Linked DNA regions of Homo sapiens: all the other regions are linked to region 2. The links are contacts of gene promoters, found by promoter capture Hi-C in blood cells and fetal thymus (Javierre and others, 2016). All regions are on one chromosome and are shown on one strand. Each heading gives the region's core, a stretch centred on a gene start or on the middle of the fragment in contact. The rest is flanking DNA. Distances are from core to core; before and after follow the strand shown.

Region 1 (3,577 bases), core at 638-3,137, 370 kb before region 2:
CCTTTCGTTCTTTTCTTTCTCTTGTTTCATTGTACTGGCTAGGACCTCCAGGACCATGTTAAAGAGAACTGATTCTAGTAGGCATTCGTTCCTTGTTCCCAGTCTTACAGAGAAAAGCATTTAGTTTTTCACTGTGATGTGTGAGGTCAGCTGTTGGTTTTTCACAGATTCTCTAGATCATTTTGAGGCAGTTTTCTTCTATTCTTAATATATTAACAGTTTTATCATGAATGGGAGTTGATTTTTTATACATTTTTTCTATATCGAGATAATTACATAGCCTTTCTCATTTTGTCACTTAATATGGTGAATTGCATTGATTGATTTCTGCATGTTAAACAAAACTTGCACTTCTTAGATAAATCTCATGTGGTTGCAGTATATTATATTCCTTATATGTTGCTGAACTTAATTGGGTAATTTTTAAAGGACTTTTGTGTTTATATTCATAAAAGATATTGGTCAATTTTTTTTTTTTTTTTGAGACCTAGTTTCACTCTTGTTGCCCAGGCTGGAGTGCAATGGCGCAATCTTGGCTCACCACAACCTCCACCTCCTGGGTTCAAGCAATTCTCCTGCCCAGCCTCCCGAGTAGCTGGGATTACAGGCATGTGCCACCATGCCCAGCTAAGTTTTTTGTATTTTTCGTAGAGACAAGGTTTCTCCATGTTGGTCAGGCTGGTCTCGAACTCCCGACCTCAGGTGATCTGCCCGCCTCGGCCTCCCAAAATGCTGGGATTACAGGCGTGAGCCACTGCGCCCGGCCCCAGATATTGGTCTATTTTTTAAAAATTTTTAATGTTTACAGTATAGGGAAGACACTGGTCTTATATATTCATTTGGGATATTTTTTAATATGCTTCTATTTTTGAAAGTTTTTTTTTTCAGAATTTGTATTTTTCTTTCCTTATATGTTTGATCTAATTTACCAGTGAAATAATCTAGGCCTGAGCTTTTCTCTGGGAGAATGTATTTAATTAGGAATACTATTTCTTTAACAGACAGGGCCATTTAGACGTTCTGTCTCTTCTGTCAATTTTGTTAATCTTTGTCTTTTAAGAAACTTGTTTCATTTGTCTACATTGTCAAATTTATTGGCATATTGTTCTTCATAGTCATATTAGTTTCCTAGGGCTACTGTAACAAGGTACCAGAAATTTGGTGGCTTAAAACAACAGAGATTTATTCTCTCACTGTTCTGGAGGCCAGGAGTCCAAAATTAAGGTGTTAACAGGACCACTCTCTTTCTGAGGCTCTGGATGGAGTTTTCCTTGCCTCTTCCTAGCATCCAGTGGTGGCTGTCAGTACCTGGTGTTACTGCACTTTCAGCTTCTTCCTCAATTTCTGACTCTGTCATCACATGAATTTCTCCCTGCATATCTCTGCCTTCACATGTGGTTTTCTCTTTTAATAAGGACACTAGTCATATTGGATTAGGGCCCACCCTAATGATCTCATGTTAACATGATTACATCTGCAAAACAACCCTGTTACCAAATAAGGTCACGTTCACAAGTATGGGGGTTATGATTTAAACATACATTTTTGGAGGACATAGTTCAACCCATAACAATAATACTCCTTTATTATCTATGTATTTACTGTCTGCAAGACCTGTAGTTATATTCTTTCTTTTCTGATATTGTTGTATTTATTTGTCTTCCTTGATCAGTCTAGCTAGAGATTTATATCCATTTTATTAACCTTTTCTACTTATTTTGAGTTTAACTGCTTTTATTATCTTGACTTCATAAGTGAAAGCCTCTTTTCACATATAACTATTTGAAGCTATAAATTTCCCTTCAAGTGCTATTTTCCTGCATACCACAAATTTTGTTAGGTAATTGTTTTTGGCTCATGTCTTAAAAGTATGTTGTTTAGGCGGGGTGCAGTGGCTCACACCTGTAATCCCAGCACTTTGGGAGGCCAGGGTTGGTGGAACACTTGAGGCCAGGAGTTGGAGACCAGCCTGGCCAACATGGTGAAACCCCGTCTCTACTAAAATACAAAAAAATAGCTGGACAACAGAGCAAGACTCTGTCTCAAAAAAAAAAAAAAAAAAAAGTTGCTTAATTTCCAAATATTTCAGGATTTTCCAGATACAATTTTGTTACTGATTTCTAATTTAATTTCTGTGTGTCCAGAAAATATACTATATTATTTTAGTACTTTAAAATATGTAATACTTGTTATATGTCCTAGTATATGGTCCCATCATGATAAATGTTCCATATATACTTGAAAACAATGTGCGTTTTGCTCTATTGGAATGGAGTGTTCTATAAATGTCAATTGGGTGAAGGTGATTGTAGCTTTGTTCAGATCTTCTATTGTCCTAATGATTTTTTGGTCTAATTATCAATTATTGAAAGAATGGTTTTTAAATGTTTAAATATTATTTTTACTTGTCTACTTATCTGTTATTTTTTTTTTTTTTTTGCTTCACGTATTTTAAAGTTTTGTTCTGTCTCATCCACTAATCTATGTGTTCTACTAGACCTTAAAATTGATCTTTGTTTTTTATATGTTGTATCCACAGTGCATTAAAGGGTCTTTTCCTCAGTAGTCACTAAATAAATATTTGATGAATGAATGAATTATACCCATGGCATAGTCCTGGGAACTAAAATATCAGTTTCTTGGTACATAGTTGTTTTAGTCTGTTTGGGATGCTATAACAAAATACCATAAACTGGGTAGCTTATGAACAACAGAAATTTATTTCTTACAATTCTGGAGGCTGGGAAGTCCAAGATCAAAGTGCTAACAAATTCAGTACCTGGTGAGGGCCTGCTTTGTGCTTCACATATGCCCATCTTTGCTGTGTTCTCTAGTGGAGGAAGAGGCAAGGGAGCTCTCTAGAATCTCTTTTATAAGGACACTAATCCCATTCATGAGGGCACGAGCCCCATGACCTAATCACCTCCCAAAGTCTCTATCTCCAAATAGCATCACACTGGGGATAAGGTTTCAACAAATGAATTTTTGGGGGACATAAATATTTGGTATATAGCAGTAGAGAAGAGTTTTTCAGTGTCCATAGAAAAGAAATTCTATCATTAAAGAATTTTAATAAATTTGTAACTCAAGATTAGATTTTCTTATTTGACTAGAGTAGGATGTGGTGATGATCTCATCTCAGCATGAAACAGGAAAGGTTGAAGCGTCAAAAATGGATTAAAAAATACGCAGTGGTAATGTTTCATTTTCATCTTTGATTTTATTCATTTCGATCTTCTCTGTTTTCTTAGTCTAGCAAAAGGTTTGTTCATTTTATCTTTTCAGAAAACTAACACTTTGTTTTGTTGATCTTCTGTATTTTTTAGTCTCTATTTTTTCATTTCTGCTTTAATGTTTATGTTTCTTTTTTTAAAAAAAGTATTAAGTTCTGGGATACATGTGCAGAACATGCAGGTTTGTTACATAGGTATACATGTGCCATGGTGCTTTCCTGCACCCATCAGCCCATCATCTAGGTTTTAAGCCCTGTGTGCATTAGGTATTTGTCCTAAAGCTCTCCCTCCCCTTGCCCTCTACCCCGCAACAGGCCCCAGTGTGTGATGTTCCCCTCCCTAGG
Region 2 (3,590 bases), core at 7-2,506:
CAGCTGCTGGTCCCCCTACCACTTAAGCCATATTCTGCCCTCCAATTCGGCTGCGCAGCCTGCATTAGAGAAACACCAGGCAAGTGGGCGGGGGAGGGGGTAATGGGGAAAACGCCCGGATGCTGAAAGATACCTAATACTTTTCTGTTCCTACTCACTGCCTGCGGTAGTTTTAACTACTTAAGCCGGTGTCCAAAACGGAGAAAAAACGTCTCAGTCCTGCCTTATCGCGACCAGGTACCAGGTGATCAGAAATCAACACGAGGAGGCTGGCTGTCCCCACACAAGCCCCGGAGCCTAGAACGATGAGGCAAGAGGGCTGTTGGGCAGAGAACGTGACCTTGTTTTCCAGGCCAGGACTGTCTTGTGCTCCCCTAACCCCCTGTAATGCAAGAAAATTACTGAATAGCTTCTGAACCTTTTCGTCCCAAGACCAATGATATGAGAGCCAAAGTCAACTTCATTAAAGGAGAACCAGCCAAGGCAGAAATCGACTGGGTTTGCGCAAACCTCACCGCACAGCACAATGTCCCTGCGTTCTTAAAGGCAGCCAATCCATGGCCCCGATCTAACCAGTCTCGCCCACAGGGGCCCTATTTTGTGCACCGCAACCCACACACGGTCTCAGCTGCTGAGACCGTGTGTGGGTTGCTGAGTCACTGAAGACGGCGGCTCGGCCCCCAAAACGCCGTCAGCCCTGAAGTGGGGTTCGGGGCCCAGGCATACGGGGTTTTAAAAGCTCTACAGTCTGGACGTCCATTGGCTCTGGCACTGAAGGGCGTTCAGGATTAAGTAATTCTCGGAACCTCCCTTCTCCAGAGCCGCCTGGGCGCCCCAGGGAAGCCATCTCGACTACCCGCCCCCGCCCCCGCGGGCCCTTCCCCTCCCATCCCCTCCGCTCCTCTACACTCACGGGGACCCTGTCCGGATATTTCTTCCGGATCTTTTCTCCTTCCTTTTTCCGATACTCAAAGGGATGGTCCTCCTTGTACTGGAACTTCATGATGCACCGCAGGGCTTCCGAGATCCCCGCGCGGGGCCTGCCTCCTTCGCCGCTGACCCTGTCCCGCTCCCTCAGCCGACGTCAAGGTGTGCTCAGAATAGCTGCAGAAACGTCCGCTCCGGGGGCAACAGCGCTGGGCCGAGTGTGCAGGGGGGGTTCGGGGCGGGGATCTCGGGTGAGCCTGCCTGGAGGTAGAGGAGAGCCAGATGGAGAAATACCGGCGGCTTTTCGCTAGAGCTGGGAGCACAAAAACAGCTGGGTGGCGCGTCGGGCTGTGACGTCACCCCGCGAGCCCCGCCCCGCCCCCCATGCGCCAGGCGCCCAGGGCAGGGGGTGGCCGAGCGCTCTGTCTCACTGCGTTTCCTTTCTGGCTAACCTTTTTCACAATCGATGTCACTGCAAACATCAAAACATTCGAGTTATGTTTTATTTTGTGACTGTGAAATTAAAGATGGTTTTAAGACAAAAAAAAGATTTAAACATGTTTTATTCCCCCTCCACTGTTTTTCTTGGTTGGGCCCCAAAACAAATACAAAAGGCGAAAATCCAGCCTTTTCCTGCTGGTTGGGATCCAGCCTCAGGAGAAAAGAGGGCCAGGCCTCCTGGGATCCCTTTGGCCAATGCAGAGCTGTCCCGTGCTTGCACCGTGCCCTCTGCGCGTTCCGCTGCCCCTCCCGCGGCCCTCCTCCCGCGCTGGCGTCACAGTGTTTGGGCGGTGCCGCAGTTCGCTCCTGAACAGCAACATAAACAGAGCGTGACTCAGGAATCTGAAGAGAGGAGTCAGATGAAGGACACGGAGTGTAATCAAAGTCTAAAGGAGACATGATGTCAGTAAGGACTACCGAGGGCTTCACGTACAATCAAATATAGAAATGATTCACTTTCTAGCCGGGCGCGGTGGCTCACGCCTGTAATCCCAGGAGGCCGAGGCGGGCGGATCACCTGAGGTCAGGAGTTCGAGACCAGCCTGACCAACATGGAGAAACCCTGTCTCTACTAAAAATACAAAATTAGCTGGGCGTGGTGGCGCATGGCTGTAATCCCAGCTACTCTGGAGGCTGAGGCAGGAGAACCGCTCTAACCCGGGAGGCGGAGGTTGCGGCGAGCGGAGATCACGGCGTCGCACTCCAGCCTGGGCAACAAGAGCGAAACACCGTCTTACAGAAAAAGAAAGGAAGGGAGGGAGGGAGGGATTCACTTTCTGCCATAAACTCAGAAAGGGGGCTCGTCTTCTGGAAAAGAGAGTATCAAGCAATTTAGGTGATGACCTCAGTTGTTCCCCCACATCTTATTTAGTTCCAGTGGTTAGGTATCCCTCACGTGACTAGAAAGCGCTGCCTGGAATGCTAGTAGAAGATTGGGCATTAGGGCAGGTGAGGCGAAGCCTCGTTCTGGATTTCCCCACCTAGAGTCAAAGAAGAAAGACCTTCCAACCAGTACTGTAGGGCAGCGACAGGGAGGACTGTGGAGTTTGCAAAGAAAAAGAACAGTGAAAAGGGGCTGCGTTGCCCATACAAGTCGGGTGAGTTCTGATAAATATTAGATAACAGCAGCCCCGTGGCCTATCTTCTTCAGTCGGGGTCTCAGTGTCTCTAATTTTAAAAACACCCACAGGGGGCCAGGCGCGGTGGCTCACGTCTGTTCTCCCAGCACTTTGGGAGGCCCAGGCCGAGGATCGCTTGAGCTCAGGAGTTCAAGACCAGCCTGGGTAACATGGCAAAACCCTGTCTCTACAGAAAAAACAAAAATTAACAAGGCATGGTGGCGCGCTCCTACAGTCTCAGCTACTGTGGAGGCTAAGGCAGGAGAATCGCTTGAATCCGGGAGGCAGTGGCTGCAGTGAGCTGAGATCGCCCACTGTACTCCAGCCTGGGAGAGAGAGCAAGACTCTGTCTCAAAAAGAATAAATAAATAAAAATAGGCCGGGCGCGTTGGCTCATGCTTGTAATCCCAGCACTTTGGGAGGCCAAGGTGGGTGGATCACGAGGTCAAGAGATAGAGACCATCCTGGCCAACATGAGACGAGTGAAACCCCGTCTCTACTAATAATACAGAAAAAATTAGCTGAGCCTGGTGGCGCTCGCCTGTAGTCCCCAGCTACTCGAGAGCCTGAGGCAGGAGAATCACTTGAACCCGGAAGGGAGAACCCGGGAGGGTTTAACTATATTTGCATCAAAACTAAAATGAGGCCGGGCGCAGTGGCTCACGACTGTAATCCCAGCACTTTGGGAGGCGGAGGTGGGTGGATCACGAGGTCAGGAGATCGAGACCATCCTGGCTAGCACGTGAAACCCCGCCTCTACTAAAAATACAAAAAAATTAGCCGGGCGTGGTAGCGGGAGCTTGCAGTGAGCCAAGATCGTGTCACTGCATTCCAGCCTGGGCGACAGAGCTAGACTCTGTCTAAAAAAAAAAAAAAAAACCTAACATGAGCGACTGAAAATTAAACTGTTTTCAATTTGAAAGTAAGACTTAAAATTATAAACATATAATGTGATAAAATAACTCATGGATTTTATTTATTTTATTTATTTATTTGATATGGAGTTTCTCTCTTGTCGCCCAGGCTGGAGTGCAATGGCTCCAT
Region 3 (3,820 bases), core at 864-3,363, 410 kb before region 2:
CTGGGATTACAGGCATGAGCCACCGTGCCCGGCCTAAAACAACTTAAATAACGAGATAAGAGAAAGAACTCAGGGTTTAAGATAAAAAATTTACCTTTACCAGAATTACCCAGGAAGTTTATATGTCTATTTCTATGAAATTATTTAAATGGTTGTGTTTAAAATTAACATTTGCTATGGAAAATCGGGGTTCTGTGAAGCTACTGTTTTAAGTATTTGATATATCTTGCTACTTTGAGGTGTGAAATATAGGGATGTAAGTGGAATCAGGAAAAGGTTAGAAAAAAAGGATTAAGGTGGGTAAAGAGTAATAGTTATGGTTGAAGCTCCCATGGGACAAGGGAGAGTACACATCATATACGTGAATATTGTCTATGGTGTTTGAATGGCCTCGTTGATATGTTCCCTTGATAAAGAGTGTCAGGATACAGCCTACCCTGTATTCAGAACCGCAATTGCAGAGGCGCCGTCCAGGGATGAATTGGTCAAATTGGTGCATTCATCAGGACCCTATGCTACCTGTTACAAGGCAATATCATGCTATTTTTTTCTTACTTTTAACAAGCTCAAAGTCAGTTACATTCTTTAATTCTTATCATGGCACTATAATTTCTTATTTTAAAGCTTCACCAGGCACAGAAAACTGCTAGTTTTCTTTGTCATCAGTGATTGGAAATTATCACCTTTACCTTCTAATTTTCTATACCATCCTTTTTTAGTAATCACAGCCCTCAATATCTAGATCTTCAGTCATGTATAGTTTTGCAACTTTCTTCTTATGCCTTGAATAGGTTGATGCCATTGGAAATTACTCCAAAAATCAATTATCATAGGGTGCCATGGCTCTCCGATGCTCTGTTGGCTGTACTAGAATTTGATACATCTTAAAAATGTCGGTTACCAGGTCTTTCTTCCTACATTTTGGTTTATTAAATCTGGGGTGAAAATCTTATGTTTAAAAAGCTCTCAGGCAATTCCAATATGCAGACTGACTTGAAAATTTTTAGTAGAGTTTATATAGTACATCCTATGAATTATAATACCTGGTTCTGGTCACTACTGCTTAATAACTCTGTGGCCTTTTGTAATCATTTAGATTTATCTAAAAGAAAATTTCTGAATTCAACCCATGCAGTTATTTTAGGGGAAAAAGTGAGATATGTATATACATTTTTCATTATGATACTCAATTTTGGTACGTATTACATTGTTTTGAGGACTACTGCTAGAAACTTGGAATCAGGCCGGGTGCAGTGGCTCATGCCTGTAATCCCAGCACTTTGGGAGGCCGAGGAGGGCAGATCACAAGGTCAGGAAATCGAGACCATCCTGGCTAACATGGTGAAACCCCGTCTCTACTAAAAATACAAAAAATTAGCCAGGCGTGGTGGCGGGTGCCTGTAGTCCCAGCTACTTGGGAGGCTGAGGCAGAAGAATGGCATGAACCCAGGAGGCGGAGCTTGCAGTGAGCTGAGATCCCGCCACTGCACTCCAGCCTGGGTGACAGAGCGAGACTGTCTCAAACAAACAAACAAACAAACAAACAAACAAAAAAAGAAAGAAACTTGGAATCTACTCCCTTTTCCAGTGTCTAGCTGGGTCCTTTCTCACGGGAAACGAAAATCAGGCAGGGGTCAGTGTTTGAAACAGAGGTGATTATATTTTCAAAATCCAGTATTAATGTCATTTGAATTATTTGCTCAATTTGGTAATCCTAAACACAATGCAGAAATGTGCAGTTCATTAGCATGCTTTGGAAGTGACATATCATTATTAGTGAGACTTGTTCAGAGTAGAAAATGTCCTTGTGTTTTTGAAGATTCCTAGGACTGCCTCTCCTTGTCTGTGACCCAAGCTGTGATCTCAGACAGCTGATCATATTTGATTTTATCTTGACAGGAATTCCTGCAGGAGAAGCATTTGTTCCATGGGGATGTGGCAGCCAGGAATATTCTGATGCAAAGTGATCTCACTGCTAAGCTCTGTGGATTAGGCCTGGCTTATGAAGTTTACACCCGAGGGGCCATCTCCTCTACTCAAACCATACCTCTCAAGTGGCTTGCCCCAGAACGGCTTCTCCTGAGACCTGCTAGCATCAGAGCAGATGTGTACGGTTTATTCCTGGACTCTGAGTTTACTTTCTTCATGACTTGGGTGTTGTCCCTGAATATGATTTGATCTGTTGCCAATTCTGTATACGAATATAATCTCTACTTAGAAATCAGACATACTCTCAAGCAGAAATGTTATGTGACAGAGTTCATGTTTGTCATCTGTCTGCAATCCTTTTTGGTACTTTTTCAACTTTTTCTTTTCTTTTCTTCTTTTCTTTTCTAAGACAGGATCTCACTGTGTTGCCCAGGCTGAAGTGAAGTGGCATGATCACAGCTCACTGCAGCCTCCACCACCCAGGCTCAAGCGATCCTCCCACCTCAGCCTCCCTAGAAGCTAGGACTACAGGCATGCACCACCCTGCTTGGCTATTTTTTTTTTCTTTTTTTTTTAGAGACAAGGTTCACCATGTTGCCTAGGCTGGTCTAGAAGTTCTGGGCTCAAGTGATCCTCTCACCTTCGCCTCCCAAAGTGCTGGGATTACAGGCATGAGCAACCATGCCCAGCCTCAAGTATTTCTTCTGTATTAGATTAGCAGCCTTAATTAGAAAAAAAAAAAGTGAAAAGATTATTCACATCAATATCTGAGGACTTAATCTAGTAAAGTCTGTTTTATCTGAAGGAATAACCAAAAGGCCAGTTAACCCATACATTGTTAAAATAAAAAGAAATATACATACCTTCAATAACTTATTTTAACATAAAACTTATAAATGTACATTATCTGTTTTTTTCAAGGAGGGGCAAGGCTTCTTTTTATAAGGATGAGTTTCCCAAATGAAGTTACACGTTGTTCTTTTAGTGTAAATAGTATCTTTTAGTGTAAATAAAAATGATTTATTTTTGAGTTCCAGTTCAGAATGATTTTAGGTAGCATGAGAAACCTGAAAATAATTGTGAAATTGTTTGACTGCAGACTTTTGATGTTACTTTTCCCAATTTTCTAAGTTGTCTCCCTCACACAATTTGACAAGACTTTCTTTTTCAGCAGTTTATTTTTATAAATCATTTTCAAAACATTCAACTTAGTTTTCAAAACATTCAACTTCCTTCAAACTTTGTTTGAAGGAAGATAACACTTTTTTGCATTTAATCCATATATAAAATACCTAATTGATTATATAACTACATATAATTGCAATTACATGTAAAATTGGCATTAACAGGATCATAAAGAATCACAATTGACTTTTGGTAGCCATATAACTCAATTGCTTGGAGAAGTGCATTGATGTAATGTAGAATATCCTGCTAGCCATGAATGCCATGAGCAGCAGAGGAAATTTAGAATATCAGTTAATATGATGAGTCAGTTATGAGATTTCCATTGTTGCTTCACTGACATCTGCTTTTCAATAGACATCTGGGGGTAATAAACTTAACTGTAAAATATTAATCATTCAATAATGATATTACAGAATAGTGAACTATACACCTCTCAAGTCATATTGCTTAGGCAAATACCTATTTCAACTATATATAAAGCTTGCCCTGTTAATATTTTTCCTAGGTTTGGGCAATTAAATCTACTGAGAAAATAGTGACTAAATGATAAAACTTGGTTGAATTTGTGCTAAGAATAAAGGCAAGAATTTCAGCAGAGAGGGATGGAAAGGAAGAAAGAGACACAGAGGGAATATTTTTAGGTAAATGTGCTTTTGTGATTGAGGTAAATGTGTTTGTGTGGTTACATGCACACACATTTGCA
Region 4 (3,666 bases), core at 559-3,058, 390 kb before region 2:
TTTTCAGGCTGTTTGTATATTTAATTAAGGGATGGGAGGGGTTATTTGTCATTTACAGTATTGGGGTTTTTATGAATGTGAAGCAAACAAAAAAAATTTGTATGTAAACTGAAAATAAGAAAATACATTAGCAAGCTTAATGGTTATCCTTACTTGAGTCCATATGGGTTGGACAGTCCCCACACACATTAAATTCTGTAAATGAAAGCCACCTTTTGTTAAAAATTTGCTCTAATAAAACATACCAAATCCTGGTTGCAGAGTAGTTTTTTGTTTTTTCCAGGAGGCTATGTCTCTAATTCACTTTAGAGATAATAAGAAATTGTTCTGGTAGATATATCCTGTGACAGAAGATACTTTAGGTGGAACTATGTAGCCAGATTCCCATCCATGAAAGGCAAGTGTAGATTGTCCCTTATTTCCTTCATACATGATTGGATTTAATTTTGGGGGGCTTATACAAGGTCTAGTTTTTTTTTACAGTTATGACAAACCCCTCAGGGATTATTCACATTTAAATATTTTCAGTTATAAGCAGTGAGGTCCTAAAGTGTTACAAGAGTACAGTCTACCCCATGTTAGGCATATCTTTGATTATGTCTTTATTCCTTATTTCACAATGTATTTGGTGTGTAGGGGAGGGGGGAGAACTAAATGAGTTTTCAGCTTTATAAATTGTTAAACATTTAGACAAACATATATGTATGTATGAATGTACATAAATATTTTTAACTCCTATTGACCACGAGTCTCACTTCAGTTTCCCAGTTCCTTTCAACCTCTTTCTGATAGATTTCCTCTTTCATTACTTTTAGTAACCATGTTCCTTGTTTCCTTTTATTCTTCCATCTGAAGCCCCACTCTTAAAAAGTTGCACTGTTCCAGTAGTTATAATCCACTTGCCCTAGGAACAAGTTAGCACTGAATTTTGGGTGGAATAATTAGTTTCTGAAGGCTTGCCAGGACTCCTGAGCAGGTAGGCTCTAGAGTCGGGCAGTCCAATAACTTTTTTGCAATAATGGAAACGTTCTATGTGCAGTCCAATAGGGTAGCAACTGGCCAAATGAGGCCTACTGATTACTTGAGGTGTGCCTTGTATAACTGAATTTATGGTGCTATTTAAACAATTTTTTTCTAACGTGAAAAGGATAAAACATTAAAAACTCTTGAGAACTATAAAGTGAACACCTATATGCCTACCCCTACCTAGATTCTATACTTAACATCTTTTTTACTGTAATATCTCTATTATAATAAATCTTGGTTTTTCACTTAACTGGTGTAATTGGTGCCAATAAACTACTTTTTTTGTAGTGCTATTTAATTTTGATTAAATTTAGGTAGCCACGTGTCTAGCGGCTACCGTTTGGACAGTATAGCTCTAGAGCATGGCTTGGTAACCTGTTTGCCATGGAGCACTAGATGGTCCTTTTCACTCCTCAAAATGCATGCCCATTGTCTTCAGGTTTGCCATGGAAAGTCAAATGATTTCCACTTCATTATGCAAGTACGCTATCATCTTCAGGTCTTTTGTATGTAAAATGTTTCTGTTCCAGTTGTAGACCTTGATGATTGTGCAGTATGAAATCGTATTGTAATTTTCTTGCATTTAGATGTCAACCTCAGAAACAGGAACAATCGTCTTTTGAACTTCCAGTAGGCCCACAGTTGTTGGTTGTTCCTCAAAACAGGTTGTGGCTCCTGTTGAATAAGATGATCCATTAAAAACTGAACAAGGTTGAGGAGAAATAGTGCTTACGTTGAAAAATCTTTAAGTCTTTGTCCCCGTTCTCTAACTTCCTTACGTTTTCGTTTATTTAGCTCTATCCCCACTATCTACTAGAATTTCTCATATTTAAACCAAGATGGGAGACTAGGTCATTAGGAAAATATTACCGTCTACAATTTTCTTATACTTTGATCTGTCTTTTATTTGATTGTAAGTTGCTGATGGACAGTGATCATTAGAAACTGAATTTTGTATAATACTAGTTTTATATGAAACTAGATTTTTATTGCGCTCAGGTTATGTTCCTTTTACCTCCTTCCTTAATAAAGAGACCACTTGAAATAATCAGACTTTTTCCAAGTACTGTCTGCACCTCATCCCACCTCTTCCCCATTCATGAGATAGTGCAGAACCCTAGCACAGTCTTTTCCATATAGTAGGTGTTTTTTAAGTTTGTTGAATTGGTTGCTGTCTTGCTCTGTCCTTAGATTATTTGCCTTTAGATTATTTATCTTTGGTATTTCATTGGTATCAGGCTGAGTCTATTTGTATGGATATTTTTAATGTAAATATTAATGTAACTGAGATGATTTATATATTCTATTGTTAGACTACTTCGTTTTGATTTGAAATGTGTGAACCTATGAGCATGGACTGTGCTGTAAGTTTAACCACTGACCCCTTTAATTAATAACTGGATTCCTAGCATGAATGGATAATGAAGTCGAATAGAAAATTTTAAAAATTTAATAAACAACAAAGGTAAATGAAGGATTTGAGGGTGAGTTCAGAATCTGCCTTGGCTGACTTCCGTATGATGATCAGTAAAGTTGGATAACTACCACTCAAAATCTCTGGCATCTACCTTGTCCTAATTTGAACTGTGTGATGTGGTGGAGAGAATACTAATTTAAGAATCAGAAGTCTTAATTACAGATCAGCTTAACTATTTTCTCTTAAATTGCCATCGGGAATCCTTTTTTTTTTTTGCCATTATGTCATCATAGTTAACTTAGTTCCTGAGGTGGCCCTCTTGTTTGGTTTCTCAGAAATAAGAGGAAGGATGGTTGCTGTTTGATCAATTACTAGAGGTTCAGTTGGGACAATGTATGTTAAACTTAGAGCATTTGAATGTATTTTACTGTAAAGACAAGAAAGACAAACAGGGTGATTAGGGAAACAGAAAATCTCAAGCTAGAGATTTTTTTTTTTTTTTTTTTTTTTGAGACGGAGTCTCCCTCTGTCACCCAGGCTGGAGTGCAGCGGCGCGATCTCGGCTCACTGCAAGCTCCGCCTCCGGGGTTCATGCCATTTCCCTGCCTCAGCCTCCGGAGTAGCTGGGACTACAGGCGCCCGCCACCACGCCTGGCTAATTTTTTGTATTTTTTTTAGTAGAGATGGAGTTTCACCGTGTTAGCCAGAATGGTCTCTATCTCCTGACCTTGTGCCTGCTTCGGCCTCGTTTTATCTTTTTCTTTACTATAAGAGCCAGGAAGTTCAGTGTCATGCAGTGGGATAAAAGTTAGGCATTAGAACAAATAAAAAAGGAGATGGCAACTTGTCTGGGTGAGGTTAGTCCTCCCAGTGAAGTGATTCAGACCATCTTCCCTGCATGCTAGGGGTTTTTCCAGACATCCTTCATTTTAGTCTGGGGCAGGAAGAGCAGTGTGCTGCTGTGAAATGATAAACCACTGAGGTTTGACAGTGTGACCCGAAGGTTTGAAGGTGTGACTAGAAGCTGTTCTAAGCTTCTAGCTAACGGTATGGTCAGAAAGGAATGAGTAAAATATGTGGTTTCCTAAATAAAAAGGGCTTTTGCAGGAAAGGAGCCAGAAGATGAGCAAATTAATACTTCATATATTCATATTTGTGTGTTATGTGCATGTTTTGCACAAAAGTGAATTTGGAAGGCAAAGTACCAGAACATTCAAAACTCT
Region 5 (3,661 bases), core at 1-2,500, 350 kb after region 2:
TTTCACTTTCCTGTGGCTCCAGGAATTGTCTTCTTCTCATATTTGAATTCTAGGATATTGCTGGGGATAATCACAGCACTAATATTTTGTTGTTGTTTTCTGTGGGGGACATTAAAGCCAACTTACTTTTATGCCATCATTTTGGAGCCAGAAGTCTCCTAAATGTCTTTATTTTTATTTTTCAGGTATGATGACCAAACATAAAAAGTGTTTTATAATTGTTGGTGTTTTAATAACAACTAATATTATTACTCTGATAGGTAAGTTACATCCTTCATTTTATTTTTCATGGCTTTCTATGTGTGATCCTATTCCTTTCTGTCTCAGTCATGATCTTTTCTCAGTATCTCATTATCTTCCCATTATACATGATAACATTTAATTGGTACAAATGAATAAATTTTATTAATTACATGACCTATGTAAGGCATCAGAGATACCAAAATTATTGTGGTAAAATTATTCACCCTGATAATCTCACTTCTATTCAACACTTTCTTGCCTATGTTAATCACTATCTTGACTTCTATTGCTATAGCTTAGTTTTGCCTACTAAAAAATTTTATATAAATATAATCAAATTTAAATACATATAAAATACAATATACAATTTGCATGTATCATAAATACAGTCATGCAATTTGCATGTATCTTTGTATCTTTTCCCTTTTATTCAACATTATGCTTGTGTGATTTTTCAATGTCATCATAGGTAGCAGAAGTTCATTAACTCACTATTATGGAAAAAGGTTGAAATTTTTTTTATAAAAAGACCCAGATAGTAAATATTTTATGCTTTGTTAGCCATACAGTCTCTGCTGCAACTACTTAATTTTTCATAGAAACACAGTCATAGAAAATGCATAGACATTGACCATGGCTGTGTGTCAATAAAATTGAACATGGAAATGTAAATATTATAAAATTTTATATGTCACAAAATATTGTTCATTTTTAATTATTTTGATTACTTTATTTCTTTTTAAAATGTAAAAATTATTTTTACCTGGTGGTTGTACAAAAACAGAAGGTGAGCTGAGTTGGCCTCAGGCTGTATTAGCGGATGTTTAGTATAGTGCATTCACTGCTATGTATCACTTTTGATGAACATTTGGATCGTGTTACATTTTGACTATTGCAAATTGGGTGGTTGTGAACAACTGTATAATTTTATATTTTTGTCTTTTAATGAATACTGGAAATAACTTGAGATATAAGAAGAATTATTAAGCACAGAATACGCATAGATTAGCTTAAGTGTATTTTACCAAAAATGTAGATAATCTCAGCAGAAGTATATGAGAATTCCAATTGCTCCATGCCATGTCAATACTTTATTGTTGGTTTTATCAATTTTTGCCATTCCAGTGAGTGCATGTTGTTACCCGATTTGGGCTTTAATTGACGTTTTTCTGATGATCAATACTGTTCAGTACCTTCATAATTGTTGTTTATTTAGGTGTAATATTTTGTGATGGGAATGTTTCAATACTTTCCCCATATTTTAGTAAGTTAGCTCTCTTTTTCTGCTTGGTTCATAAGAGTTGTTTAATATTCTAGATGAGACTCTTTGTAGTTTATAGGTATTGCAAATATCTTCTTTAACTATGAAGCTGAAGTTTACCCTCTGTGTCATGTCTTTCAATCGACAGAGCTTCTGAATTTTAAAGTAGTGTAATTGTGTCTTTCTCTATTGTCACTATATTTTTCATTCTAAGAAATTCACTTTACTTCAAAGACATAAAAATATTTTTGTAGGGTTTCTATTTTCCTTTCACTTTCCAAAATATAGTCCTCTTGAAGTTGATTTTTATAAATTTTAGGAGATAGATATTAGGATGCATTATTTCCCATTTAGTTAATCTTTCAACCTGAAATAACTTATTAAAAAGACTATACTTTCCCTACTCAACTGCAGTTGGTCTTTGTCATCAATCAACTGTGTAGGTGAAGGTCATTTTTGCTAAAATTTTATTACATTAATTTACTCTATTTTATCTATCTTTGTATCTATATCATTCTGTCTCAATACTGTTGGTTTATAATTAAGTCTTGATGTCTGGTTGTTTAAATGTTTTAAAAGTTTTATTTTTATTCTTCAAGTTTACCTGGAGCATTTTAGATCCTTTAAGCTGCCATATAAATTATCTGTAATTTTGATTGAGATTGCATTAAACCATAGTCAATTTTCATGGAATCATTATCTTAATATTGAATCATACATTTAAAATATTGATTCGGTGTTCCGTAATTTCTGCCAGCAATTTTTTAGTTTTCAGAATAGATTTCACACACATCCTTTTAAGAATTTTTTAAAGACTCAATGCGCTATAATGCAATTGTAACTAGCATAGAAGTATTTTCATTAACACTATTGTCCTATTTAGTCTCTTGCTGGCCTATAAAAATTATCTATATAAATTTAATATATACCTATATAAGCCTCATATAACAAATTTGCTATAGTTAACTATTCATTTTCATAAATTTTCTTCAGTTTCTTTTGCAAGTTCTATGTAAAAATTTACATTATCTGAAAATAATAATTGTTTTACCTATTCTGTTGGAAACCTTATGCCTTTTTTATTCATTGTATTCTCTTATTTTACTGGCTATAACTTCCAGTATAAGGTTGAGTATAAGTAGTAACAGCTTACATGTTTGTCTCATTCTTAAATCAGTAAAATTTTTTTAATATTTCCCAATTTAGTAGTAGTATTTGCAGATATTCTTAATCAGATTAAAGGTGTTTTATTTACTTCCCTTTAATTTAATTTAAAATATCAAATGCTTTATCTTGATCTATTGAGATACTTTCTTTTCTCTGCTAATATGTAGAACTACACAGATTTTGTAATATTGAGATAAGATAATCTTCAATTTCTGTGATAGATTCAACTTGATCATAACCTATTAACCTTTTAACATTCTTCAATTAAGCTGAATAGTATTTTAAGATATATGCACATATATCCTACGTCTTCATAAAAGATCTACCTATAGTTTCTCTTTCTTTCAATACTATTATCAGGTATTGATGTGATTATGATGGCTTCTAAAATTTGGTTGGAAAGTATTCCCTCCTATCCTATTTTCTGAAAGAGTGTGTATAACGTTGGTGTTATGCCTTTCCTAAACGATTAGAAGTATTTCTAATTGAAGCCATCTGGACAGGGAGATTTCTTTTTGTGCAATTTTTTAAGTTAAAGATTTAATTTTTTAACTAGATATAGTGTTATTTAGATATGCTGCTTTTATCTTGTCAGTTGTGTTAAATTGTGTTCTTCTAGAAATTTCTCTACTTTTTCATTCTTTGTGTTGCTAATTTGTGTTTTTATCTCTCACAGTTACATTTTTTAAAATCAGTTTTCCTAGTGGTCAATCCTGTTTTAGAGTATTCAACAAAAGTCATCTTATGACTTTAAACTTTTCTTCTATTTGGCATTAATTTTTTATTCAATTGATTTCTGTTCTTTTTGTTTTCTAAATTGTGTCTTTCTACTTTGGTTTTAATTTATCACTATTATTAACTTTGTAAGGTAGGATAATTATCTTTTCAAAAAGTCTTTCATCATTTCTAAAACATAATCTTAAGCCAATAAATTTTCCTGTAAGCTTTAAGGGAGTTGCTGTGTCCCACAAGTTTAGTTGAATCCCATAA
Region 6 (3,857 bases), core at 351-2,850, 420 kb after region 2:
GTTTTTTAAATGAGACATTTCAGCATGATTTTTTATTTCCCCAGCTAAATACACCTATTAAGGTGCAGGTGTAGTGTAATCAGAAAAGTAGATTTAATTGCTGGGGAATTATATAAGCCAAATTATATTAGTCAAATCACACAGCTGTGACAAGAGACAGTAATTTCATCATTGTCATGATACAAAGGTGATTCCGCTGTTACTAACAGGATTTTACAATCCCAGCCCACTTAGTGCTCATATAAACACAGATATTTTAAGAAAAACAATTTGTTGCTTCACTGAAATTCAAGGTACGTTGGGTTCTATATTTATTCTTCTTATTAATGTTCTCATTTTATCTTCTTTTAAATTAATTCAATTATTTGCTAGTTTGACATATTTTGTATTAGGCTTTTCTTATACTAAAAAGTGTAACAAACTATGACAATAACCTTGAATGAAATTGTAAACCGCCAATACCTCCAAAAATACCCTTGAAATTTGTAACTTCTTGTTTCTAAGAAAAGAAGTTAAATTGACTTCCTATAAATTACATAGTTTTGTGGTGAAATGAAGAGAAACGTGTATAGGAAACAGATGCGTAGGAGTTACTTCCTTATTTGGTTGCAAATGAATTCTGAAGTTTCGAAGAAAGGTAGAAGGTGAGTTTTCCTAAAACCAGGACATTCAAAAACCGTTCCAACATCCAAAGCAAGACTGAGAAGTATATTTCCTACAACTGGTTTATCACACGGCTCCTTAGCCCCTTTATTAGAACTTTTCCTTTTATCACCTTGTGTAATTGTGTAATCATATTATTTTATGATCACTTTTTTTGCAGGTAAAATGCTTTATTTATAAGGCTTATATGTATAAAATTCAACTGTAGACACACAGGTCGGAGACTATGTTAATTCATTTTTTATCTCCCATGGTTCTTACTTTCCTGATATTCATCGTGAAGCATGGGGCAATAGTACTTTTTAGTATTAACATGTAGGTAAACAAAGATATTTCCTATTTTATGCATCAATTTAATATTTGATATGTTCTGCTGTACTTCTGGATACAAAGTGCTCCTTGATTTTATCATTCAATTCCATTTGACTCAGTACACCTATGACTCAAACCAACCATGTGGTCAATGGAAAAAACACAGAGATACGGCCTTAGCCACTATAGTCAAAGGTATACATTTTGTCTTTACAGCCACTTTCCTGTCTATTTCTTTGGAAAAAATCATTTGCCTACATAATATGGTCCTGGGAGGTTTTCAGTCAGAATATACCATCCTCCTGGTTGAAATGATTACTTTAAAAATGGCAGATGAAGCTTCCAATGCAATAAAATATTGATCTACATACTCTGATGACAGTAAATAGAACTATGTTTGCTTTTTATCTGTATGACTCATGTTTATGGTTTCCTACAAAATGTTCATTTCTGTGTGTTTATCAGAGAGTCAAAACATTCCTTATGATTATCCCCCAAAAAATGCCAGATGCAAGGAGTTGGAGGAGCAGATCTTGTTGAGATACAGGCTGCAGAGAAATTCCGTTTGCTCATTCTTTTGTAGTATTGATTGGTATGGCTCTTAGGGAGTAAAATGATATGTATCATCCAAAAAATAAATACATCAAGAATGATATCCCAATTTTTTGCTAGGATTTGTCCCCAAATTTCTTCAGGCTGTGTTACAGGTCAGGTTCCTCAAAAACAGACTCTCAGATGAAGGATTACATAAAGGATGTTAAGTACCTGTGGATGAGAAAGAAAGGATTGGGCAAAGGCAGATATTGAATTGTGATGCAGTAACACAAAGGCTTCAGCTAACAGTATAGGGAGCTCTGGAGGTGAGTGCCCTTTCAAGTTTATCTTGATATAAGGCAACAAGTCCAAGCTTTTATACTCCCACACGAACCAGCCGTTTGATACATCTGGCACTGGGAGAAAGTGTGACTTTGAGAAGGCACTTCTGTTTAGCTGAGAGCCATACAAGGAAGATTCAGTTGAAAGCTTCTGACTCCCAGGTGCTGAGACAATGAGGCTTCAGTCCAAAGTGGAGACACACCATTGCACCCATTGTAAATGGAAAACCAGTTTTTAAATCAAAAGATAAGGAAGACATATATATATATATACACACACACACACACATATATATACATATATACACACATATATGCAGATAGATAGATAGATAGATGGATAGATAGATAGATAGATAGATAGATAGATAGATAGATAGATAAATTTTCCTGATCAGACTCCTTTGCTTAGGGCTAGCAGCATATATCCAAAAGTCCATTAAAATATCCAACTCAATCTCCCACATATTCCAGAAACAAAAGTGATCATTTTGATTCTTTTCTAAATCTAATTTTACCCCCTAATTTCTGACTCATTTGAAAGAATACTGCCCACAGTTTTAGGAATCAAAGCATGAAGGCCATCCTTGACTCTCTGTCTGCATTTTTTTCTGATTAAATGACCCTACCTAATAAATCATAGACTGTAATGACTAGTAATGTCTTTAATTCAACAACTTTCCATCATCTCTACTTCCACTGCATTGGTCTTAAAGGCAGTCATCTCTCTATGGTATCCCTTTATTCCAGTTCATCTTGCACCTGTTAGACTGAGTAACTTCCAAAAATTGCACCTGTTAACTTCCAAAAATTAATATCTAATTGCAATTTGTCCCAAATTTATAAGAATTTATTACTTTCTTTCTGCACTTAGAATAATTCCAGACTATTTAACAGCATTGATTTCACCCTGTAATCTGGCTTTGTCTCTTGTTCCATTCTTCAGTCTCACTGTAGTGGACCATTCTTTCTCCCATCTCTAAGACTTGTACATTTTACCCTTGTCTACAAAGTTGTTGTTGTTGTTGTTTTTCCTCTGCCTTATTCACCTGGAAAACTGTCTCATCTTTCACTTCTCAGATTAAATATTTACATAATTTTATAGAATGCCACCTTGAGAATAAATTCTCCAAGATGTGTTCTACATGCCCTCATAATTACCTGCTTAATTGTCTTGCCAGACATGAGCAGAAACAGTGGAATAAAGACCTACAAAAAGCTATTCCTTCATAAAATCAACAAGAACATTGACAAAAACTGTCAAAACAAACTTCCTCAGAATACTGTGAATTAACCAAAGACTTGCAAAAATCTGGCAAGCATTTACTCAAGAAAATAGGTGAATTTAATTGAAAACAGTGACCTTTGTGGAGATTTAACTTGCTCTATTCCTATTCCGTATTCCTCAGCTTCACAGTAGCCTTGAAAAACTATAGTAGGTCTTACAACTATAGTAGCAGTAGTGAACTGTAGCCCAACAGGTCTCAGAGGGGCCATAAAGGGTTTAGAAGTCCCAAAAATTATTCTTAGAGTACTGTCATTATTCAAACTATCAAACATGATCTTGGAAATTCCCACCTACGACTTTAGTTGATCTCAAACAGAGCTCGCTCAGTGCAAATGACTTTTTCCCTAGGGGTATTTGACAAAAACAATCAGCACCTATTGCTGTACATTGCAGCTGCTTAATATGGAATAACAGCTGGGGCAAAGGAAAAGCTGACCAAAAAACTTAAGAGGGAAACTTAAGGGATGGGCTGCCTATAGTAGTTCATTGAAATGATACAAAATATTGATACAGCTTCAATGAATGGAGGAACACCAGAGTCCTTTGTCTCACGCCAATTTAGATAAGACAACATGGACACACATGGAGTGGTTTTAAGGAACAGAGAGTTTAATAGGCAAGAAAGAAAGAAGAAGCTCCCAGCTACAGAGACGGGGGGTCGGTGAGGGGTGGGGGTGGCTCCAAGCAGAGAGAGGAAACCCCAAGTATGGTGGAAACAA
Region 7 (3,932 bases), core at 982-3,481, 400 kb after region 2:
AGGATGAGGGACTAGTCAGGTATCCCAGGGTTATTAATTGCCATAAGTTTTCCTTCCCATAATTAAACAGGAAGGAAATACTGAAAAGCATTGCCAAAACAACCATAGCTGGGAAATTTCCAAAATATCTTGACAGATTGCCTGATGCCAGCGGACAACCTTCTCCCCAGCCTTGCTGTCCTGCCATAAGTCAGACTGTCCTACCATAACTCAGATTGGAAAAAGAACCCAATCTTTTTTTTTTTTTTTTTTTTTTTCCTGAGACGGCGTCTCGCTCTGTCGCCCAGGCTGGAGTGCAGTGGTGCAATCTGGGCTCACTGCAAGCTCTGACTCCCGGATTCACACCATTCTCCTGCCTCAGCCTCCCGAGTAGCTGGGACTACAGGCGCCCGCCACCACGTCTGGCTAATTTTATGTATTTTTAGTAGAGACGGGGTTTCACCATGTTAGCCAGGATTGTCGTGATCTCCTGACCTCATGATCCGCCCGCCTCGGCCTCCCAACGTGCTGGGATTACAGGCGTGAGCCACCGCGCCCGGCCAGACCCAATCTTATAAACATTCTTTATTGATGAATGGCCACAGACCTTAAACCAGTTACAGACAGCTTGTGGAGATTATGTACAAACTATTTTTGTACGCTATAGTTCACCTTTTGAGGTAAAGAGCCAAATTCCACCCGATTTAATGTTAAAACACCATCCCAAAGTGACCGTGGGGTGCATGTTACATCTGCTTACCCAATGCACTAGTGCTTGACTTCCTTCATGAATATTCATAAGTATTCACAGAATTTTCCCAACCCTGCTCAGTATGTATGTAAAACTGACTGTATAAGACATGTATACCAGCCCCCTCTCACTTCTTCAGAGAGTGAACTTTCGGATTTTCCCGAAAGCTGCATTTCCCTAATTCTAGGGTTATTTTTCCCTCTGAAAATAAAGTCTTCTCCTTTCCTTCCTTTGTGGATCTCATGGTCTTTTGATAATGAAGATAATAAAAGATCCAATTCCGCCTAATATCTTAAGTCCAACTTTTATCTAATTTAACACTTTTCCTCTCTCTCAGCTTGGATTGGATCTGCTTAGTTTGGGACCATTAAGGGGGCAAGTGAGTATAACGGGCTCTGCATGAGCTTCTTCCCTCTCTAGTATCTCTTTCCATTCCCCAACCCTGATCCCCAGAATGAGTGAAGGTGAAACAAAGGGAATAGAAATAAACACGGAATAAAGATGTTACCAGCCTGGACAGTTTTAATCTGTATGCTGACACTCCAAATGTTTTCTCTCTTTTTTTTTTTTTTTTTGGACTACTTCTATGGGTTTTTCAGAAATTCTGCTCCTGGGGTACTCTGCAGTTGTCTGATGTGTGATGTCTCCTTTGGCAATCCTGCTTGCAAATCACTGTACCTCACCCCTCACAACTCCCCAGGTACCTTTTTTTTTTTTGCTTTCTACTCTATACTTCCAGCTTCTTTTCATTGAGGCTGACTTGCCTGTGGTAAGAAGCAGTCTTAGGTGAATTTTATTTTAGGATGGTTCCCAAATGGCTGCTTTGTATGAGATCTTCATCCGGCCCACAGGAAACACTCCCTTCAGCCTCACCATTGCTGGAAGTGTGGCTTAATCTACACATCTGCTTTTACTCTGTGGTTATGTGTAGTTCTAACAAACTCACATACTGAAAGTGTTCACCTCTGCAACCTCCAACTCCCAGAGGACACTTGCCAATATATGACAGAATCCAAACTTGGCTTAAGGTAAAAGAGAAGTTCTTTTGCTTATTGACACAGAAAGATATTGGGAAATGGGAAGTACACTGGCAAGTCACTTCATAAAAAAAATTCTCACTTCCTAATCTCTGAACACTCATAAACTCTTAATGTGCTCTGAAAGTAGATGATAGATCGAAATTTGAAATAAACACTTTTGCAAGCTTGTTAGCATGTCCTATATAGGAGGTCTAGCACCTATAGAATTGTTCTTGACATTTGTGCCCTCAGATAAAAGTAAACAGCAGGAATGACCACATTTTAATATCCTACTAGTCATTCAATATTTATGAATTATTTTCTGAGGACTTATTACATGTCAGACACTGTTTGGGGAGTCTATTTTAGACTTCAAACATCTTTTAAAAACAAACATTTCATTAAACTATAGGTGAAAATTTAAGCATATAGTCATTAAGTTTGTGAATCAGACCTATCTTGGAGAGGAATTTAATTTGTTTAAATTTATCAAAGGACACACAAAAGATAAGCCCTAGTTATTCTAACCACTTATTAACACAGCTACCTGCGATTTCTGGGAGCTTAACTTCCGTTCAGGCTCAGAAACTCTAATTTTGGGAATATACTTGGACCACATTGTTAATTTGGGAGGATTCAGATAAAGTATGAGAAATGCATTCACATTTGACTATGAGAACATCAAGTTATATTGTATAATACCAAAAATAATGGTCCCTTGAATATATCCAGGATGACCTACAAACAGAATTGTTCCTAGATAAAAACCCTCAAGCTTGTAGAAAATCTATGTTGACACTCACTATTCAGATGTTGTCATTCACAACTCTGAGTTTCAGTGATTTAATGATGAAATTTAGGACTGAGAAGCTTGTTTCTTGCAGATTTATCAACCTTGCTAATTGATCTTTATGTCATTCTCCTTTTGTATACTTCAGGTAAATAAATAAATATTTGATTTATTCATGGGGTGATTTTGTTTGATACATTAATCCATAGGCACAGTCAATATTTTCAAAACAGTAGTTTTACATCAAATAAAGCAGCATTAAAAAAAACAGATTTATCAATAGAATAACAACTTTTGAAAGTGGAACTTATTTTTTTAAATCAATTTTCTTAACCTAAGTTTAAATCTAAGTAACCCGCTTTTTCCAACAATAATAACAATTTATCTTTGAATACTACACAAAATCTCATGACATAATCAAAATTAACTGGGGTATATGGATGCTTCTTTCAAGAATTGGTATCAATTCTGCCTTCTGGAGCCAGTAAACTAAGCGTAACATCAATATGACAGCTGTTGGAACAATTTACGTTAACAAACTTATTCCCAGCAGCCCTTTTCCTGATTCTGGCTAAGTAGCTTTAGTTCCTGGAAATAATACTTAAGTTACGGTTTCAACTAATTCAAATCCCTGTTTTTTCTCATCTGTACTCTTAAAAGTAGGCATTTACATATGTGCATGTATGCAGAGGAAAACTAAGAGAAAGTTAAGATGGTTTGAAACAATCACATAAAAATTATTTCAAAGAATTGGGCCAGGAATGGAGGAAAAAAGTCCCACCCTTTCTTTTTAGATATATTTGTATTGATTTTACCTAAAATTCATTACTTCACACAATCTTATTTTGAGCTTGTTGGTCATTGAATTTCCCCTAGTGCTCTTGCATACATCTACAAATAAAGGCAATTCTTCCCATCTTGTTAACTTCTTCAGTTTAGATTTTAATACACTTAAAAAATTCATCTCGCTAAACTCTCAATTTTCTCCGAAATGCAGAATGTTTGGAGTTTATGATTCTATTACTCAGTGTATTAGATATCCAAGTTGTATGTCATCTATACATTGAATATATTAACCTAAGCATTTATAAAATGTGGAGTAAGAGAGAATGAAATGCAAAACATTCTGGCATATAGAAAATGATCTCTCTCCTAACTAATGGCACCTAACCTGAGGTAGCACTGCTTTCATGTAGATATTATAGCATTCTGTGGCATACATCTCAGTGAAAATCATATACATGATACATTCATTGTTTTCCAAAACCATTAATGTGATAAGTCTTTTAACACCAAGAATACGAGGTCATTCTAGCATGACTTGCCTGCTTACTCATATTACACATATGGATATTTACTAAGACTTAGCTAACTATATTTTTAATATTGCACT

The links. The method cuts DNA at HindIII sites, captures the fragments that hold promoters and counts their contacts. A CHiCAGO score of 5 or more calls a contact.
Region 1: a fragment that was not itself captured here is called in contact with the fragment with the promoter of GABARAPL1 in region 2 in 2 of 17 cell types (total CD8 T cells and naive CD8 T cells); the score reaches 5.3 in total CD8 T cells.
Region 3: a contact is called between a fragment that was not itself captured here and the fragment with the promoter of GABARAPL1 in region 2, in 5 of 17 cell types (naive CD8 T cells, total CD8 T cells, naive CD4 T cells and 2 more). The highest score is 7.0, in naive CD8 T cells.
Region 4: a fragment that was not itself captured here is called in contact with the fragment with the promoter of GABARAPL1 in region 2 in 7 of 17 cell types (naive CD8 T cells, total CD8 T cells, neutrophils and 4 more); the score reaches 7.8 in naive CD8 T cells.
Region 5: a fragment that was not itself captured here is called in contact with the fragment with the promoter of GABARAPL1 in region 2 in 1 of 17 cell types (neutrophils); the score reaches 6.3 in neutrophils.
Region 6: a contact is called between a fragment that was not itself captured here and the fragment with the promoter of GABARAPL1 in region 2, in 1 of 17 cell types (neutrophils). The highest score is 5.4, in neutrophils.
Region 7: a contact is called between a fragment that was not itself captured here and the fragment with the promoter of GABARAPL1 in region 2, in 1 of 17 cell types (total CD8 T cells). The highest score is 5.1, in total CD8 T cells.

What each region holds. Positions count from the first base shown.
Region 1 is chr12:10,582,478-10,586,054 of GRCh38, reverse strand. No RefSeq gene overlaps it. Among named protein-coding and RNA genes, the nearest start is that of MAGOHB, 29 kb to the left of the region's middle. The HindIII fragment of the contact is 5,981 bases long and covers 1-3,577 here.
Region 2 is chr12:10,210,543-10,214,132 of GRCh38, reverse strand. It overlaps GABARAPL1 (GABA type A receptor associated protein like 1), which reads right to left and starts at 1,256. Exons shown (of 4, transcript NM_031412.4): 1 at 914-1,256. The coding sequence starts at 1,003. GABARAPL1-AS1 (GABARAPL1 antisense RNA 1) reads left to right here. Exons shown (of 3, transcript NR_170310.1): 2 at 1-79; 3 at 171-484. RefSeq lists a silencer at 1,124-1,383 and an enhancer at 1,477-2,019. The HindIII fragment of the contact is 15,130 bases long and covers 1-3,590 here.
Region 3 is chr12:10,622,939-10,626,758 of GRCh38, reverse strand. STYK1 (serine/threonine/tyrosine kinase 1) reads left to right here. Exons shown (of 11, transcript NM_018423.3): 8 at 1,900-2,108. Among named protein-coding and RNA genes, the nearest start is that of MAGOHB, 11 kb to the right of the region's middle. The HindIII fragment of the contact is 2,973 bases long and covers 627-3,599 here.
Region 4 is chr12:10,602,601-10,606,266 of GRCh38, reverse strand. It overlaps MAGOHB (mago homolog B, exon junction complex subunit), which reads left to right. Exons shown (of 5, transcript NM_018048.5): 5 at 1-2,074. Among named protein-coding and RNA genes, the nearest start is that of MAGOHB, 9.2 kb to the left of the region's middle. The HindIII fragment of the contact is 3,342 bases long and covers 138-3,479 here.
Region 5 is chr12:9,859,098-9,862,758 of GRCh38, reverse strand. CLEC2B (C-type lectin domain family 2 member B) reads left to right here. Exons shown (of 5, transcript NM_005127.3): 2 at 186-260. The coding sequence starts at 188. Among named protein-coding and RNA genes, the nearest start is that of CLEC2B, 8.4 kb to the left of the region's middle. The HindIII fragment of the contact is 4,734 bases long and covers 1-3,617 here.
Region 6 is chr12:9,790,706-9,794,562 of GRCh38, reverse strand. No RefSeq gene overlaps it. Among named protein-coding and RNA genes, the nearest start is that of CD69, 32 kb to the right of the region's middle. The HindIII fragment of the contact is 568 bases long and covers 1,317-1,884 here.
Region 7 is chr12:9,808,693-9,812,624 of GRCh38, reverse strand. It overlaps a transcript of KLRF1 not described here. Among named protein-coding and RNA genes, the nearest start is that of KLRF1, 17 kb to the left of the region's middle. The HindIII fragment of the contact is 590 bases long and covers 1,937-2,526 here.